2 separate regions of the Homo sapiens genome follow, and region 1 is linked to region 2. The links are contacts of gene promoters, found by promoter capture Hi-C in blood cells and fetal thymus (Javierre and others, 2016). All regions are on one chromosome and are shown on one strand. Each heading gives the region's core, a stretch centred on a gene start or on the middle of the fragment in contact. The rest is flanking DNA. Distances are from core to core; before and after follow the strand shown. Region 1 has its middle 35 kb from the start of RNF6. Region 2 holds the start of LNX2 (ligand of numb-protein X 2).

Region 1 (5,326 bases), core at 1,388-3,887, 1.4 Mb before region 2:
GGGGTTCCACCCTGTTAGCCAGGATGGTCTCGATCTCCTGACCTCGTGATTCGCCCGTCTCGGCCTCCCAAAGTGCTGGGATTACGGGCGTGAGCCACCGCGCCCGGCCGCCTCAAATTATATTCTAATCAGTCTCCCTCAGTTTAGCCTCTGCATAAAGGCACTTTAAAAGTCTTCGAACACTGAACTCTCAAGTGAAAAAGACATGTTGTTGTATAAAAATCTGTTTTATGCTTTTTGCTCTAGAAGTCTCTAAGGCTTAAAAATCAGCAGGGCATATTCTGCTATCAAAACTACAACAGTATAATTTAGTTGTCTTCAAAGTAAAAAGATTTGTAAGACTTGACATATGAGAACAGATTATCTAATTGTTTCCCCTTTATTGAGTATTGGCCATGATGTTACAGAGACGAACATTCAGTTTTGAGTCACTTCTACTCGCAGATGTTTCAACGTTTCCTGGTCCATAATGACTGCACAATACGAGTATCTCTGCCTTTTAAAGCTGTTCTGGCTTAAAACAATGCCTCACCTTACATTTTCTATGAGTGAAAATAACGTAGATTGAATGCTAAGCATACACACTGTGCAGGCCACAAAGGATAAATCTGTGGACTCCTGCAGAAGGCAGGCGATCCAAAGCAAATGTCCTTAGCTGCCCTCCACCAGTAGAGGGCAGCCCTCTCCCTACAAACTGTCTACCTAGTGAGCTCCAAAGTGCGCTGCAGGAAATTATTTTAGAACTTGTAGGTATTGTTATCATTTTATTGATTGATTGATTGATTGACTATTAAGACAGGATTTCACTCAGCCACCCCAAGCTGTAGTGAAGTGGCACAAACACGGTTCATTGCAGCCTCAACTTCCCAGGATCAAGCCATTCTCCCACCTCAGCCTCCCAAGCAGCTGGGACAACAGGCGCACACCACCATGCCCGGCTAATTTTTTCAAATTATTTTTTGTACAGATGGGATCTCACTATGCTGCCCACGCTGGTCTCGAACTAATGGGCTCAAGCTATCTGACCGCCTCGGCCTCCAAAAGTGCTGGAGTTACAGGCATGAGCCATCATCCCCGACCAAGGTATTATTTTTATTTTAGCTTTTTAAAATTTCTATTTGGTGTGCTCTTTGTAATAATACATAAATATATATATGAGCATGCATTACATTTTTATAACTTATAAATAAATACATATACATATACATTTGAAGTGCATTTTTTTTAAAAAAAGTTGTTACTTGGCTGGGCACAGTGGCTCACGCCTGTAATCCCAGCACTTTGGGAGGCCGAGGTGGGCGGATCACGAGGTCAAGAGATCGAGACTATCCTGGCCAACATGGTGAAACCCCGTCTCTACTAAAAATACAAAAAATTAGCCTGGCGTGGTGGCAGGCGCCTGTTATCACAGCTACTTGGGAGGCTGAGGCAGGAGAATCGCTTGAACCCGGGAGGCGGAGGTTGCAGTGAGCCGAGATCGTGCCACTGCACTCCAGCCTGGGCAAAACGAGCGAAACCCTGTCTCAAAAAAAAGTTGTTACTTAAAGTAATGCATTGTCAACAGAAGTGTAGAGGCCATGATTCTAAACTTGTGTTCTCTACGCCTAACTACGAACCTTGTGCCTTTCCAAAACCAAAGGTCACACTTCTGGAAAGTTCCTTCCTCCCTCACATTCAATATCTATTTAGAGAACACACACTATGTCCTAGCTTCTGCTAGGTTCTGAAAATACAGTAAGAGGCAAAAGAGCCATAGCCCCTCCCACCCCGTGCCCTTATGAAACTTGCAGTCTACATAAACATAGATATGAAACAAACACAAAATGTATGTTTTAACCCTAAAATGCGATAGGGAAGCCAGTCAGACGATTTACTCGGGAGTAAGAATTCAGGTCATTCACCAAGGCGCCCATGTCAAAGCTTCATCACCCGCCTCGCGGCCCTAAAACGTGTCAGAGTCATGATACACACAACGCAGAGGAAAAGTTCAAAAACAGATCTTAAAAAGAGAAGTGAAAGCAAGCGATCAAAACATTTCTGGAAATCTGACACATCTGGAGTGCCGTGTGGAGACGCCAGGGCGCGTGGAGCTTTGAGCAGTTAAAAACCCAGACCGGGAGGCCAGTGCGTGTGTAAGACCGCGTTTCTCTGCAAGGCTGTCCCGCGGCAGGAACGCGCTCGTTGGGCCGCAGAGCAAGAGCGGGACGCGCCGGGGGGCGTCTGCGTGGCACGTGGGCCCCGCAGCCAGTCGCGCTACCGACTGGCAGTCAGCGGAGACGCTTCGGAGCAGGTCTGTTAGGGCGCGCGCACACACATGCACGTGCACGAGCGCACGTACACGCGCACACCGCCAGCGCGGACCCTGACGGGGCCGAGCCTCGGAATTGGGCCTCCTCGGCCGCCGTCGTCTTCTCAGCTCTCACAGGGCCCGCAGCGGCGCTATACCTTCGGCCACAGGTAGCGCGTTCCTTCGCTGTGCTGACCGTCGATCCCGGGGGCGCTAGAGCGCCGGCTCCGGGGAGGGCAGGGAAGCGTCAGGGACCTTTCTTCTTCTTTTTTTTTTTTTCTTTTTTTGAGACGGAGTCTCGTTCTGTCGCCCAGGCTGGAGTGTAGTGGCGCGATCTCGGCTCACTGCAATTTCCGCCTCCCAGGTTCACGCCATTCTCCTGCCTCAGCCTCCCGAGTAGCTGGGACTACAGGCGCCCGCCACCACGCCCGGCTAATTTTGTGTATTTTTAGTAGAGACGGGGTTTCACCGTGTTAGCCAGGATGGTCTCGATCTCCTGACTTCGTGATCCACCCACCTCGGCCTCCCAAAGTGCTGAGATTACAGGCATGAGCCACCGCGCCCGGCAAGCGTCAGGGACCTTTCTAGAGCCTTGCTTGGCCTGAGGTCCGGGACTGGGGCTGTCCCCGCTTCCTGTTTCTGCCATCAGTGGGGCCACAGGCCTGAAGACGGCTTGTACCGCCACCTTGGGCGCCTCTGCTCCTGGCTGCGACGTGGGGCGTCCTAGCCTTCGGACCGGGAACCTGATAGGAGACGAATAGAAAGGGGGAAAGCCCTGGAAAATTAAGCCGGCACAAGAAGGGGGAAACGTTTGGAGGTCAGGCAAGGCTGATGGCCTTGGGGATCGCGGAGCAGGAGGCTTACTGGGATGTCCAGTGTGAGAATGTCAGCCCGTGAGCTCTGGTGTGCAAGAAAAATGCCTCTTTTCTGGATTTCAGGTGAATTTCTGACTCCTCTGGGCTACATACGACCACCCTTCCCTGGCCCCCTCTGGTGAACTGGTTATAAAAGAAAAATTACCCTAGTTCTTCCTGCGGTCCCCTCCCCAGGGATTAGGCCAAGTTCTGGAAGCTTATTGGGTGACTTAGTGGGTATGTTAATGGTTAAGTAACGTACCCAAGGTCTTATTGCCAATCAGTGGCAAAGTCAGGATTCAAATGCAGATCTCTTGGACTCCAGAGGCTGGAGTTTATTAAATGTTTAGCCCCAGCTCTATTTGATTTTGGGGGTTTTTTAAGACAGTCTCTATCTGTTGCCCAGGATGGAGTGCAGTGGTGCAATCTTAGCTCACTGCAGCCTTGAACTGTTGGGCTTAAGCAGTCCTCCTGCCTCAGCCTCCCAACTAGCTGGGACTACAGGCGTGTGCCACCACACCTGGTTCCTAGCTCTATTTGAGACCACAGTGGCCTGAAGTGTAAAGCACACTGGACACTAGGTGTCAAAAAATAGAACTAGAAGTCAACAAGTGATCTAAAACAAGATTCTGTAGGTGTCTGGGCATCAGTTTCATCATCTGGGTGAAATGGACTTGAACCTGTTAATATCCAAGGTCCCTTCAGCCCTAATAGTCTAGGAATTCTAGAGAGTGTAACTGCTCATTTGCAGGCTGCCATCCAGACCATCACAACTGTCTTGTGGCTCATGGAGACTTTCAGATTGATGCAGTGGCTCCAAGGCGAAGTGACCTCAATTGCTGATGCAAAACTAGATTCTATAAGTGTAAACTGGTGGTTCACAAGGACAGGTGAGAAGTGCTGATGGTGGCAAGGGAGGCAATTATAACAATATCCCTCCCCTTCTACCCCATCCTCCACCCCACTTGTGACAGACATAGACAAGGACTTAATTGTGGCACAGAGGAAGGGCAACTGACTCTTGAGACCAGTGAATCTGTAGTCAAAACGCACTGATCACTGTTGAATAACTACTGGAATTATCAAGAGTCTGGCTGAATTTACATTTTACTTTCCAAAACAAATATAACCAAAAATTCCAGTCACTGCATAAGCCAGAAGCAGGTGACACACAGAAGTGAAGACTGAGGGGAGTTTAGGTGAAAGCTGCAGCTGTTCTCTCCCTTTTAGTGGGGGCTTTAGTTGGACAAGTCAAAAGAGCTTTTTTTTTTTTTTTTTTTTTTTTTTTTTTGAGATGAAGTCTCACTCTGTTGCCAGGCTGGAGTGGCATGATCTCGGCTCACTGCAACCTCTGCCTCTTCAGTTCAAGCACTTATCCTGCCTCAGCCTCCCAAGTAGCTGGGACTACAGGCACATGCCACCATGCCCGGTTAATTTTTGTATTTTTAGTAGAGATGAGGTTTCAACATGTTGGCCAGGATGGTCTCAATCTCTTGACCTCGTGATCTGCCCACCTTGGCCTCCCAAAGTGATGGGATTACAAGCATGAGCCACTGCGCCCGGCTCAGAACAGATTTCTGAAGAGGTTGTATGCAAACTGATTATTGTAGACTCAAAGGCTTACACTCCCATGAAGTAAGAGGGAGCTTTCTTAAATGTAAGATAGAATCAAAATATTCCTAGTAGCCAGGGATGGTGGCTAACGCCCGTAATCCCAGCACTTTGGGAGGCCGAGGCAGGTGGATCACCTGAGGTCAGGAGTTTGAGACCAGCCTGGCCAACATGGTGAAACTATGTCTCTACTAAAATACAAAAATTAGCTGGGTGTGGTGGCGGGCACCTGTAGTCCCAGCTACTGGGAAGGCTGAGGCAGGAGAATCGCTTGAACCCGGGAGGCGGAGGTTGCAGTGAGCCAAGGTCATGCCACTGCACTGCAGCCTGGGCGACAGAGCCAGACTCCATCTCAAAAAAAACGCTTCCTATTGTAATAGATCGTTGGATGAAAATATGCCACCTTGCCTCAATTACTCTAAATCAAATAACAGGCTTAGTGTGAGTTGGAATAAACCTATCAATGGCTACATTTTTTGTTTATGTATATCTGTGTTCATACGAAATTTCATATTTCATGCCAAGGAGGAAATGGAAAACTCCTAAAACTTTCAGAAGGGAAACTATTCTCATT
Region 2 (5,169 bases), core at 2,670-5,169:
ATTCTGCAGTTAGCAAAATAGATAGGATCCCAGCTCTAGGAAGCACACATTCTAAAGGATAGAACCTACAACACCTGCTTCTTTAAAAGCATACTAACTAGAGGACAATTTATTATTGTAATGTCATGAGCACTTGCTTGTTAAAAAATTCCTTTTTTGAGATGGAGTCTAGCTCTATCACCCAGGCTGGAGCGCAGTGGCGCAATCTCAGCTCACTGAAACCTCTAGCTCCCGGGTTCAAGCGATTTCTCCTGCCTCAGCCTCCTGAGTAGCTGGGATTACAGGCACCTGCCACCACGCCCAGCTAATTTTCGTATTTTTAGTAGAGACAGGGTTTCACTGTGTTGGCCAGGCTGGTCTTGAACTCCTGACCTCGTGATCGCCCGCCTCAGCCTCCCAAAGTGCTAGAATTATAAGCGTGAGTCACTGCACCTGGCCAAAAAATTCCTCTTAATAACTTCTTAGAAGGCTAATACACAAAATAGCCACCTTTTCTGAATCCAACCAAACAAAATAACTTATTAACCACAGATTTTCCTACTGCTTTGTATTTTCTGAGGAAAAGAAACAGGTGCCAGGAAAGCTAAAAGGGATGTCTTTTGTAAGACTCTCAGGCCCTCCTACAGGGTCAATTTAGGTAGGCCTGCCCCAGTCTTCTAATTCTACATGCAAGATACATATGTATTACTTTTTCAAACAACACTGCTTCCTAAATAGAGGAGAACCTATGAAATGAGACCTGTGATTCTTTTTTAAAAACCTAGATGCATTTGGATAGAGGAAGGTGGGCCTGTGAACTCTAGCCCTGTAAGCAGGAAGGAAAGTTAAATAGTTCCTCATAATACAATTTAAAGATATCGGGTGGCAATTGTAAAGGAAAGAAAGAAGAGGGGAAGAAGGCCAAAGAGCCAACCAGATTACAAGAGCCTGGAGTCCTCCTTTCTTTGATGGTGGCCAAAATATATTTTAAGGATAGAAATGCCTAATATTCAATGTCAACACTTCTGATATCGCTCCACTGTGAACCCCTTCACCCTCCCCTTCCTCTAAATCTCTCATAAAGCTTACCATACTCATAAAGCCTTTCTGTGAACTCTTTTTCTTTTCTATTCTTTCCTAGCTCCTGTGAGACACAACTATCCAACAACTGCATCATGGATCTCTCAACCATCCATTTAGCACCTCCTTAGATTAGTCCAAAACTGAACTTATCTTCCCTTCTACACCTCTACCATCAATTGTTTTTAACTGCTCCTTCTCATATCCTCCAACATTCCACTAGCTCATTAATGTCATCATCTAAAGGAACAACTAATATTTACTGAGCACTTGGAATGTGCTAGGTACCCTGCCAAAGGCATTACATGCATAATTCCTCAAACCCTACTCAACAGGTACGACAATCATTTCCCAAATGTTAGGAAATCAAAGTTCTGTCAGGATAGTTATTCTAAGGGTAAGTAATAGAATTAGAATTTGACCCGTTTTAATTTCACAGCCAGCTTACCCAGTACATGTCAATCAATGCCTGAAGTCAAACAACCCAGGATTCATCCTTCCCTCCTTAAGCCTACCCAGTCACTTACCTAGTCCAGCCTCCTAGTCATACCTCTTAAACACCACGTCATTTCTCCTTCCACTGCCAGCACACTAGCATTTACTAAGTCCTTACTATCTGGCAATCACTATTCTAAGTAATAGACATGTTTTTTCAAGTTCTATCCCCCAAACTCTGAGATGACAAACCTAAGGAACAAAGAGGTTTCAGTGTATGACAGAGCCTGATTCCACCCCAGGTAATCTGAATAGAGAATCCCTGAGCACTTAACCCCTCCATTAGAACAGCCTCCAACTTAGTCTCCATATCGCCCATCTGGAAGCCCACCATCCTCCAGACGCTGCAGATATCTTTCTGGAATGCTTACCCGTTATCATGACATTCTCCTGCTTAAAATTAGCAGCTCAGTATCACTGACTGGATAAAGTCCAAATTTCTTAATCTGGTATAAAAAATCCTTCATTTTTCTGTTCAAGTCAATTCAGTAAATATTTTAGTGCCCAATGTAAGCAAGAAAAGGTGCCAAGTGTTCTGAAATGAATAATACATGTCCCTGACTACTACCTCCACCTCGGACACTGGGTCCTTCGGCCAGACAAGCCCATATGCAAAGCTCGTAATACAACAGCCCAAAGACACATACATTTATTTTTAAGTGGCCTGCGTGCTACGTGCCTACAATGTACGAAATCCCAAACCAATCTGAAGACTAAGTGCCTACGTAACACCTATTCTTACAGGTCTCCAGGCAGAAATGCTCCCTAAGTTCAAATTACTTCAGGGTAACTAGTGGGATAAAGGCATGGATCAGTTTCCAAATGAGAAAACTGGGCAAGAAGCAACCCCCGCCATCAATGGCTGGCATGCAGTAGGTACTTTATCAGTGGCTAAATGAATAAATAATGAAAAAATTTCAAAGTTGATGAGAGAAACAAGATATATGGAGAATGTAACACACAAGTGGGCCGAATTAAAAGTGATGTTATTCTACTTTGGTTCTCATTTGGCCTACTTTTACCCCATGGGAAAACTCACATGTGGGACTCGGACAAGCTAAAAAGCCAAAACTTTGTTATTCATGGCTCAACAAAGCTTTGACAAGCCAAAAAGGATACCAGATTCCCGCTTCCTTCTTTACCTGCCAAAGTCCATTTTCTAAAGAGGTGTGGGGGTGGGAATCAAATCTAGCAAAGTAAATAAAATTGATCTACTGAGATCCAACTTCATTAGTGCTGCATCGAAGTACATGCAAAAGAAATATCAAAACCTGTCCTGGGAAGAAGGCCAATTTACAAGTAAGTACTATTGCCGCAAGAATGTGAAATTCTTAAAGGCAGTTCCAATAAGCTGGAGCTCACAAGTGTTCCTCCTCCTGCACCGCCACCGCTTTTCACTCAACTTTGTTTCTGATTTCTGTGATTTTAAAAAGCATAATATACACAGCAAAGCCCATGCATAAGTGTACTTTAGCTCCTGGTACAAACGAACGTCTGGATTCATAAACTTAACGTAAACTGAAATACTAAAAGAAACACTACATGAGTCAAAAGTCCTTGTTTAAAACGTGGCATACAGCTTTGAAAAGCGAGTGATGTATTTCCTGAATGATGCTTTGTGTGCAACTGCTTCCAAATCAAGATTCATATTTTTAAATTACCCCCTGGAAGATGTCAAATCTCTCTCCCACCCTCTCCAGCCTAAAGAGAAAGGTGAGAATTCACAGGCAACAGGCTGGGGCGGAGGGAATGATCTCTCCCCATCCCTTTCCAGAGAACAAAACCCGATAAAGGCAGCTAGTGCCACTCTCATTGCCGACACCACACACACACAGAGGAAATTTAAACACTCACCCCACCTCTCCCTTCCCTTAAGAAGCAAACGACGCCAAGCTCTGCACCACGGTGGCCGGAACCAGCAAACGCTAACAGCCGGAGGCCGCCCGCCTCCCGGGCGCCTGCAGGCGGCGGGCACCGGGCGCCGACTCTCCCTCCTGGACCAGACCCACACCCGAGTCCACGCCAGCCCCGCAGCCCGGGCGAGCGAAGACAGCCGCGAAGGACCAAGGCTCCGGGGCGAGCTGTGGCGCCGCTCCGGCCGCCTCCCGGGGCGCGGCGCTGACCCACACCCAGCTGACGCCCGCACCTGAGGCGGCTGCCCGCAGCCAGCGAGAGGGCGCGCAGCGAGGCGGGCAGGGCAAAGTTACTCACTGGGAAAGCGCGGCTGCCCGGGCCGCGCACGGGCTCCTGGCGCCGCTGCTCGGCACCAGCTCCCGCTCTCCGCGGCCCGCTGAGGGAGCGGAGAGCCTGCCCGGCTCCGCTCCGCCAGGAATCGCCGCCGCCGCCGCCGCCGCCGCGGATTTCCTGGCAAAAAGCAAACTCCGGCCAAGACTTCACTTCTCAACCGCCCCTGCTGCCTTCCCGGGGGCAGCGCCAAGGCCGAGCGGCCCAACCCGCACCCGGGCCAATCGGAGGTAGCACAGGGCGGGAGGTGGGCGGACCAGAGGGCGGCTCCACCTATCCGAGAGCTCGGGAGGCGGGCCAGAAGGGACCCGTCACTCCCGGGTTAGAGTGAGACCACTCCGCCCTCGCCGCCCGCCTCCCCCACTCGCCCCGGGCTGTCCCCGCCGCCCGCCTGATTCCCCTGCGGAAGCCCCGCTGGCTAGGTGTCTGCGCGCACCCCCGGCCGCCGCCAAGAGTGGCACAGCTGGGGAAGGAGTGAACATCCAGAGGAATCGCGGGGCGGGGTGGGGGGAGGCCAGGAGAACAGGTGGCGCAGGGAAGCAGAAACGTAGTTGCGCTGGACAGCTGGAGTCGGGCAGGGTCGGGGCCAGCGGCGAGGGGACAAGAAGGGCCGATTCGAGAGGAAGCGCACCTGAGGGAGCACAGCGAAGGCCGGGACGCAGGGAGCTGGATGGAGAGCGAGCCTGGGCGGCGAAAGGTTGCCGAGGCGGGGGCTGGGCGCCTGGGAACAAAGGTGAGGGCGGGTTCCGCAGGTGAGGAGGTTTGAGGAGCCACTGGGGAGAAAGGGAAAAGGAAGTCTACAGCCGGAGAGGACGCGCTCTGGGGGTAGAAGGAATCCTAGGACGGAAAGGATAAGGTGGGAAACAGTTTTCTCCCAAACTCTCACTCCCCCAAAAGAGACATTTCTTTCTTGCCCTATTTTGACCCAGTTGAAAATGCAACTGCAAGCTCCCCGGTGAAACAAATACCGCCTTCAACCTTCGTATTCTGTGGTGACTCATCTCGCACGTGACCCCCCTCCCTCTTCAAGGTGTGTTGACCGACTACAGTTTAAGCCTGTCGTCCCACAAAAGGCCCGGGAGGGCCGGGGTCCCAGGAAGGGCCATCCTGGGTCAACACCGCCCCAGTTGGGAAGTCGGGCCGCTTTCGGACTTGCCACTGGGAAGGGAAGTGATTTGGGGGCGGCAGGTAAGGCCGCGCCCCTTCGCCATCACCTGGGGAAAGGTACCAGAGTTGAGCCGGGGCGCCCGCAGGCCTGTCTGGGCCTCGGGGTAAGGCGGCGCTGGCCCCGCCCCCTGCCCCTCCCGCCGCGAGTGGCCTCGCGTGGTCGCCCAGGTGAGCCGCGGGGCCGCGAGCCACCGCTCACCCCGC

Evidence for each region. Contacts are between HindIII fragments. The CHiCAGO score rates a contact against its expected background, and 5 or more counts as called.
Region 1: a fragment that was not itself captured here is called in contact with the fragment with the promoter of LNX2 in region 2 in 1 of 17 cell types (activated CD4 T cells); the score reaches 9.4 in activated CD4 T cells.

What each region holds. Positions count from the first base shown.
Region 1 is chr13:26,184,222-26,189,547 of GRCh38, forward strand. It overlaps a transcript of RNF6 not described here. Among named protein-coding and RNA genes, the nearest start is that of RNF6, 35 kb to the right of the region's middle. RefSeq lists enhancers at 1,924-2,093, 2,144-2,193. The HindIII fragment of the contact is 1,438 bases long and covers 1,919-3,356 here.
Region 2 is chr13:27,616,610-27,621,778 of GRCh38, forward strand. It overlaps LNX2 (ligand of numb-protein X 2), which reads right to left and starts at 3,920. Exons shown (of 10, transcript NM_153371.4): 1 at 3,766-3,920. It also overlaps a transcript of POLR1D not described here. RefSeq lists silencers at 3,470-4,359, 4,980-5,169 and an enhancer at 3,948-4,676. The HindIII fragment of the contact is 4,924 bases long and covers 2,649-5,169 here.